2 separate regions of the Homo sapiens genome follow, and region 2 is linked to region 1. The links are contacts of gene promoters, found by promoter capture Hi-C in human tissues and cell types (Jung and others, 2019). All regions are on one chromosome and are shown on one strand. The core of a region is centred on a gene start or on the middle of the fragment in contact, and the rest is flanking DNA. Distances in the headings are between cores, read along the strand shown. Region 1 holds the start of SP140 (SP140 nuclear body protein). Region 2 overlaps C2orf72 (chromosome 2 open reading frame 72).

Region 1 (3,802 bases), core at 555-3,054:
AGCTAATCCTACCAGATATTTAAGGAAGAAATGACATCATCCTCCCCAATTTCCTCCAAAAATAAGAGCAGAGGCAACACTTCCTAACTCATTCTTTGAGGTTAGCATTAGCCCATTGTCACCTCTCAGTGCCGTCTTCTTCCTGCTTGGTGACCATGGGCTGGCTGGACTTTGAGCTCCGCTGGCTCATCTTCCCTTCACTAGAGAGCAAGTGAAAGAGAGATGACAGGGATGCCTGTCTGGGAGTGGTGGCACTGGGCACTGAAAACCAGTCTGGTGCCACCACTACTGCTGATAATAGCAATAGCTTTTGCTTTCTTGGGGCTGTACCAGCGCCAGAAGTAGCCTTAGCACAGAGTCCCAATTAGACAAGTTTCCATACATTTTTACATTCCACACATTTTCATTTTTATCAAGAATGTACAGTCATCCCTTGGTATCCAGGGGGAATTGGTTCCAGGACCCTCCATGGATACCAAAATCCATGGATGCTCAAGTCCCTGATATAAAAGGTGTAGTATTTACATATAACCTATGCACATCCTCCTGTATATTTTAAATCATCTCTAGACTTATAATACCTAATACAATGTAAATGCTATACAAATAGTTATACTGTATTTTAAATTTTTATATTACTTTTTATTGTTGTTATTTATGTTTTTAATTTTTAGAAAATATTTTGCATTCATGGTTGGTTAGATCCATGGATACAGAATCCACAGATAAGAAGAAATGACCGTATTGATGTACTTGTCTTTTTTTTTTTTTTTTTTTGAGATGGAATTTCACTCTTGTTGCCCAGGCTAAAGTGTAATGGTGTGATCTTGGCTCGCCAAAACCTCTGCCTCCCTGGTTCAAGCGATTATCCTGCCTCAGCCTCCTGAGTAGCTGGAATTACAGGCATACACCATGACACCCAGCTAATTTTGTATTTTTAGTAAAGACAGGGTTTCTCCACGTTGGTCAGACTGGTCTCATTGTCTTACATTTTTTAAAGATGATTTCCAGGCTTCTCTGACCAGATATGTAAAAAATACCAGAACAGAAGAATAAAAAAAGCAGAAGCAGCACTCACTCTCTACCTGCTTGCCTTTTTTGTTGGGTCTCATCTGCTTTCACTTCCTCCTACCAAGTATTCAGAGATCCTGAAGTGATTCTAGGGCTAAGAGCCACATAGATGGGCTCAGAGCAGAACCGGTCCCCAACTACACAGCCTGGAAAGTGTGACAACAGACAGGCGTTTGGATTTTAATTCTTCTAAAAAGATCCTTTTTAGACAGAGTTGTCTTTTGGAGTGGGGATAAAGGAGGCCTGGGGGAGAAGAGAGGGTTCAGAGGTCACGGGGAATCATCCAATCCTACACAAAGCCTCAGAACAGGCATGATGTTCAAACAGCTCCAGTCCAGCCATTTGCAGATGTAAGAGAATAGGAAGATGATGTGAGTCACGGCATCCTTGAGTTTCTCCAACAGCCAATCCCTGCAATTTAAAAAATCTGATTGCCTCGTTATTTATTTGTAACTGAATTCTATTGTATACCTGTAGAGTGAAGCTGGGTAGACATTAAATAACAAGTATGAAAGGGAACCCTACCAGAGATGAAGGACAGACGGGAAAGGAGACGATGACCCACCTGAAGTTGAGATTGCTGTCTCCACTTGCCATCTGCCCCTGCTGGCCCTGCTGGGCCATGAGCTTGGCCTAGGATCACACCCGATTCGATTTTCACTGCCCCGTTCCTTCCTGCAGCTCTGAGGTGAAGCTGCCAACTGCCCCTCGGTGCTCAGTCAAAGAGGAAAAGAAAAGTGAAATTGCCTAACTAGCTGACGTGGGTGCACCAACTCTACAGTCCTCCCTCCACCCAATCTCCATGACGTCTCTCAGTCAAGGGAGGAGGAGCAGAGCCAGCCCCACGAGGCCACGGAAGACAGGGTCACTTGTTCCTGCCAAGGAAAGAGGGTGGAAAAGTCATTCAACTCAAGCAGATCAAAGTTGTTTTGAGGTAAGGTGGCATCATGAGGAGGAAGTAAACTCTGTATTTGTCCCCACCCCTTGCTGAGGTGGCTGAGAAGGACAAGTGAAGACCAGACATTTCAAATCTTCAGTCAGGCTCCAGGGCTGGCCATGCACCTTAGTGAGCCTGGGCTGGATGGCTTAGGCCCAGTGTTTGGACATGGGGCCAGGGAGAACTGAAATAGCATGCATTAGAAAGTGGGGGAGATGCTCTTAGCACTCCATGAAAGCAGACAGAGGTAAAAGACAACTCTCTCAACTCCTCCAGCCAAAGGCAAGTGCTGAGGTTGGGCAGAGAAATGAGGTGCAATTCTAAGTTTTCTCAAATATGTGGGCACTTTACAACAGCAGCCAGGGGTGACTGGGAAAAAAATGAGCTTCAACCATTTCACTGAAATCTTGAGGAGAGTGACAGCCTTCTCACTGGATGGGGAAAGGGTTTGGAGCTGAGATTATCTAGACCTTCAAGGACAATATGATACAGGAGGATAGCTGTATTACATTTATGTTTGCACACAATTTTTCATTTATACCCAGCCCTCATTCTGTAAAGGATTTGAAACAATTTACAAAAACACACTATATCAGCATAAAGTCGAGTGATAAACAAATGGAAGCAAAGGGCAAATATAAAAAATATAACCACAGGACTAGAAATCCAGGCAGAAAAATGGGTCAAAGACAGGGGGCTGATGAGAGCCAGGGTATGGGTAGAATCCAGGGCCAGTGACAGAACAGTAGTGAGGATTGAAAAGCCAGAGGCAAAGCAGTATTTTTCCAAAACATGTGCTCCTGAATCCTACTTTTTCTGGTTCATTACACATATGCAAGGAAATTTGCATACATAAGTTTGCAAAATACAGAGTGCAAGAAATTTCTACCCCTTCCACACTTCTGCTTTCTTTCTACCAAAGGAACAAACACCAATCTGGTTGAGACAAACTCTAGAACACTGATGAGGACACCTTTTCCAGTATCTCTCTCTCTCTCCTCTCTCTCTCTCTCTCTGTCCTCTCTCTCCTCTGTCTCCCTCTCTCTCCCTCTCTCTCCCTCCCTCTCCCTCCCTCTCCCTCTCTCTCCCTCCCTCTCCCTCCCTCTTTAAAACAAGAAGGAAAAGTATGCTGGGCTTCTGTTAGACACAGCTGTCCTCTCCTCCCAGTCTCCATGGGGCTCCAACAAGGCCTGGTACAGACTATACCGCCTGCTCCAGCATCCCCTCTCTCTCTTCTCTCTGCCCTTAGGCAGTAGGCAGACCCAGGACACCAATGAACTGGACATTTTTGAAAATGTGCCAGCTTCTTTTGCTTATAAGCACAAGGCCATTGGTGTTCCTCAGCTGACTGGTGGTAAGATTGGTACTTCAGGGGTACTGCTGCTACTACTAGAAAGCCCTACTTTGCAACACCATGCATTAGCCCAGGTAAGGATAGCCTGAAATTTCAGTTCTATTTCCCACTATCTTGTTTTTCCCTATGCTCACTACAGAACCTCTCCTGGGTAAGGGATTCCTGGGCCAGGCATATGTAGGACCATCAGACCATCTCTGGTTCCCAATGTCTTCCTTTACTGCCACGTGACCAGTGGAGTCAGAAGGCTCCGGCCTGCCTCCTGGCTCTGTTCCCCCATCCAGATTTAGGCCAAGTAGGTCATAATCCCCAAAGGTAAATCAATGCTTTCATTCTACCTGGAAGATTTCTCTTCATTTTGCTAAGCATGCTAGAATCTGACACCTGGAATTGGGGAAATGAATTGTATAGAGTCTTGATCACAATCCAGTGCTGTAATT
Region 2 (3,917 bases), core at 546-3,045, 820 kb before region 1:
GAAAATATGTTGTTGACATATAATTATTGCTGTGGAAGGCAGTTATAGTATGTTATTGATGAAGAAAGCAGATTCCAAAACAGTAAGTACAGTCACGTGCAACATAATGACATTTTGGTCAATTACGAACCTTAATAAGAGAGTGGTCCCATAAGACTGAAACACAGCTGGCCGGGCGCCGTGGCTCACGCCTGTAATCCCAGCACTTTGGGAGGTCAAGGCGGACAGATCACGAGGTCAGGAGATCGAGACCATCCTGTCTAACATGGTGAAACCCCGTCTCTACTAAAAATACAAAAAATTAGCTGGGCGTGGTGGCGGGAGCCTGTAGTCCCAGCTACCTGGGAGGCTGAGGCAGGAGAATGGCGTGAACCTGGGAGGCGGGGCTTGCAGTGAGCCAAGACGTGCCACTGCACAGTGCAGCCTGGGTGACAGAGCTAGACTCTGTCTCAAAAAAAAAAAAAAAAAAAAAAAAAGATTGAAACACAGCTAAAAAATTCCTGTCACCTAGTAACCTTGTAGTTGTCCTGATGTTGCAGTGCAATGCATTACTCACATGTTTGTGGCAATGCTGGTGGAAACAACCTAACTCGCTGCCAGTCATGTAAAAGTCTAGTACATACAATTATATACAGTAGACAATACTTGATAATAATAAGAAATGACTATGTTACTGTACTGTCTCTCTCTCTCTCTATATATATAAAATTATTATTATTTTTTGAGATGGAGTCTTGCTCTGTTGCCCAGGCTGGAGTGCACTGGCGAAATCTCTGCCCACTGCAACCTCCGCCTCCCAGGTTCAAGCAGTTCTCCTGCCTCAGCCTCCCGAGTAGCTGAGATTACAGGCGTGTGCCACCACGCCCTGGCTAATTTTTGTATTTTTAGTAGAGATGGGGTTTCACCATGTGGGCCAGGCTGGTCTGGAACTCCTGACTTCAGGTGATCCGCCAGCCTCGGCCTACTATATGTTTTAACATTATTTTAGAGTGTACTCCCTCTACTTATATGTGTGTGTGTGTGTATATATATATATATATAAAGATATATATACACACACACGTATATAAAGTTTATATATATATATAGTTAATTGTAAAACTGCCTCAGGCAAGCCCTTCAAGAGGTATCCAGAAGAAGGCATTGTTTATCATAGGAGGTGACAGCTCCATGTGTGTTATTGTCCCTGAAGACCTTCCAGTGGGACAAGATGTGGAAGCAGAAGACAGTGATACTGATGATCCTGACCTTGTGTGTAGGTGTAGGCTAAGGCGCATGTTTGTGTCTTAGTTTTTAGCAAAAAAAAAAAAAAAAAAAAAATTAAAATAGGAAAAAGCCTACTAAATAAGGATATAAAGAAAGAAAATATTTTTGTACATTTCTACAATATTTTGTGTTTTAAGCCAAGTATTACTACAAAAGAGTGAAAAAGCTTTTAATAATTTAAAAAGGTGGTTTTTGTTTGTCTGTTTGTTTGTTTTGAGACAGTCTCACTATGGTGTGCAGGCTGCAGTGCAATGGCAGGAGTACGGATCACTGTAGCCTCGAACTCTTGGGCCCGAGCCATCCTCCTGCCTCAGCCTCTGGAGTAGCAGGGTCTACAGGCACGCGCCATCATGCCTGGCCAAAAAATCAAAAAGCTTATAAAGTAAAAAAGTTACAGTAAGCTAAGGTTAATTTATTATTGAAGAAAGAAATATTTTAAAATAAATGTAGTGTAGCCTAAGTGTACTGCGTTTATATAGTCGACAGTAGTGCACAGCAATGTCCTAGGTCTTCCCATTCACTCACCACTCACTCGCTGACTCACCCAGAGCAACTTCCAGCCTTGAAAACTTCATTCATGGTAAGTGTCCTATGCAGATGTACCATTTTTTGATCTTTTATAGCATATTTTTACTGCACCTTTACTATGTTTAGGTATGTTGAGACACACAGCTACTTACCATTGTGTTACAGTTGCCCACAATATTCAGGACAGTAACCTGCTGTACAGGTTTGTAGCCTAGGAACGATAGGCTATGCCGCATAGCATAGGCATGTAGTAGGTTATACCATCCAGGTTTCTAAGTACACTCTATCGTGTTCACACAACAAAAATCCCCTAAAGATGTATTTTTCAGAATGTATATCCCTGTCATTAAGCAACTCATGATTGTATAAATGCATGTAATTATGATATCCTATATTTATCATATGCTATCAATGTGTGTACATAGTCCATAAATGCCATTTGCATTTTAATACATTCACTTCTATATGAGATTTGTACATACCACAGAGAGAGAAATTATCCAAGATTTATGTAAAATGGTTAATGATTCTGTTGCTTCATCTTTTCTCCTTTAGTTTCCAAGTATATCCAAAATGATGGTGGAGAGGTTGAAGTTAGCATTTTTGCAATTAAACATTTTAAATATCTACTGCATTTTGAAGATGATATAGAAGTGAGTTTATTAAATTTTAAAGAGCACAAGGAGAGATAGGTAAATAGAATGGCGTACCCCAAAATATAATTGTAGTTATCTCTGAATGATGGAATTAAGTGAATGATGTTTCACATTTGTTTTCTTTCTTTTTTTTTTTTGTACTTTTTTTTGAGTTTTCAAACATGACAGGCAGAATTCTAAGACAGCCCCCAAGATTCTGGCCCCTTATAAAGCCCTTCCTTGAGTCTGGATGGGCTCTGTGAATGTGATAGCTTAGTCACTCTGGGGAGTAGGTTGTCTCTCTGACAAATGCAATGGCTAGTGACTACCTTGACTCCTTAGGTTATGTGGACTCCCTCCTAGCAGACTGGAGAGCGGGGTTCTCCTGCTGATTGAAGGAGGATCTCTTGTGAGAGGGCTTGTGAGAGCAAGGAATGGCAGGGGCCTCTTGGAGCTGAGAGCAGCCCCAGCTGACAGCCAGCAAGAAGTCAGACACCTAATCAATGCCTTTGAAGCTGCTAAGCTTGTGATTATTTATTTATTTATTTATTTTGAGACGGAGTTTCACTCTTGTTGCCTAGGCTGGAGTGCAATGGCACAACCTTGGCTCACTGCAACCTCCACCTCCGGGGTCCAAGCAGTTCTTCTGCCTCAGCCTCCCAAGTAGCTGGGATTACAGGCATGTGCCACCACACCCGGCTAATTTTGTATTTTTAGTAGAGATAGAGTTTCACCATGTTGGTCAGGCTGGGCTTGAACTCCTGACCTCAGGTCATCTGCCCACCTTGGCCTCCCAAAGTGCTGGGATTACAGGCATGAGTCACCATGCCCAACCTACTTGCGATCATTTCTTATGCAGCAATGAAGACTGACACATCAACTAATGGTTTTCTTTCTTAAATGAGAGACACAATGAAAGTTAATTTTGAACCACCATCCATTGTTTCTGTAACAAAGCTATACTTCTCAGTGCACTTTGGGATGGGCTGTGTGCATTCAGCAGGCTACACCATGCTTCCGAGTACTGTAGCCACCCCCATCCATGGCGTCACTATCCGCAGTTTCAGTTACCTGCGGTACAGTCCAATAAGATATTTTCAGAGAGATACCTCATTCCTGTAACTTTTGTTATATATTGTTAAATGTCTTAACTGTGCCTAGTTTATAAATTAAGCTTTATCGTAGGTATATATGTACAGTAAAAAACACAGTGTATACGTAGGGCTTGGTGCTACCCATGGTTTTAGGCATCCACAGGTGTCTTAAAGCATCTCACGTGGATAAGGGGGGGATCAGTGCGCTTCCTATCTCTCTAACATCAGCATTGACATGGAGGGGTGTCTTCCCCTTCCCCTTCTCCCTCATTTCCATTTAGTGGCCTGATGATTCCACCTAGGAGTGGCTCCGGGTGAGTTTTCTCCCCTCCATTCCCACTGCCCAGGTCGGGCCCAGGCCGCCTGTTATCCCTCCTGGGACACGACAGCCTCC

What was found. Contacts are between HindIII fragments. The study calls those that stand out against the background at their distance.
Region 2: a contact is called between a fragment that was not itself captured here and the fragment with the promoter of SP140 in region 1, in 1 of the 25 tissues and cell types used here (spleen).

What each region holds. Positions count from the first base shown.
Region 1 is chr2:230,223,738-230,227,539 of GRCh38, reverse strand. SP140 (SP140 nuclear body protein) reads right to left here and starts at 1,804. Exons shown (of 27, transcript NM_007237.5): 1 at 1,637-1,804. The coding sequence starts at 1,695. It also overlaps a transcript of SP110 not described here. RefSeq lists enhancers at 1,215-1,264, 1,285-1,364, 1,435-1,484, 1,715-1,924. The HindIII fragment of the contact is 8,977 bases long and covers 1-3,802 here.
Region 2 is chr2:231,042,070-231,045,986 of GRCh38, reverse strand. All of the region lies in intron 2 of C2orf72 (chromosome 2 open reading frame 72), which reads right to left. Among named protein-coding and RNA genes, the nearest start is that of C2orf72, 6.5 kb to the right of the region's middle. The HindIII fragment of the contact is 5,949 bases long and covers 1-3,917 here.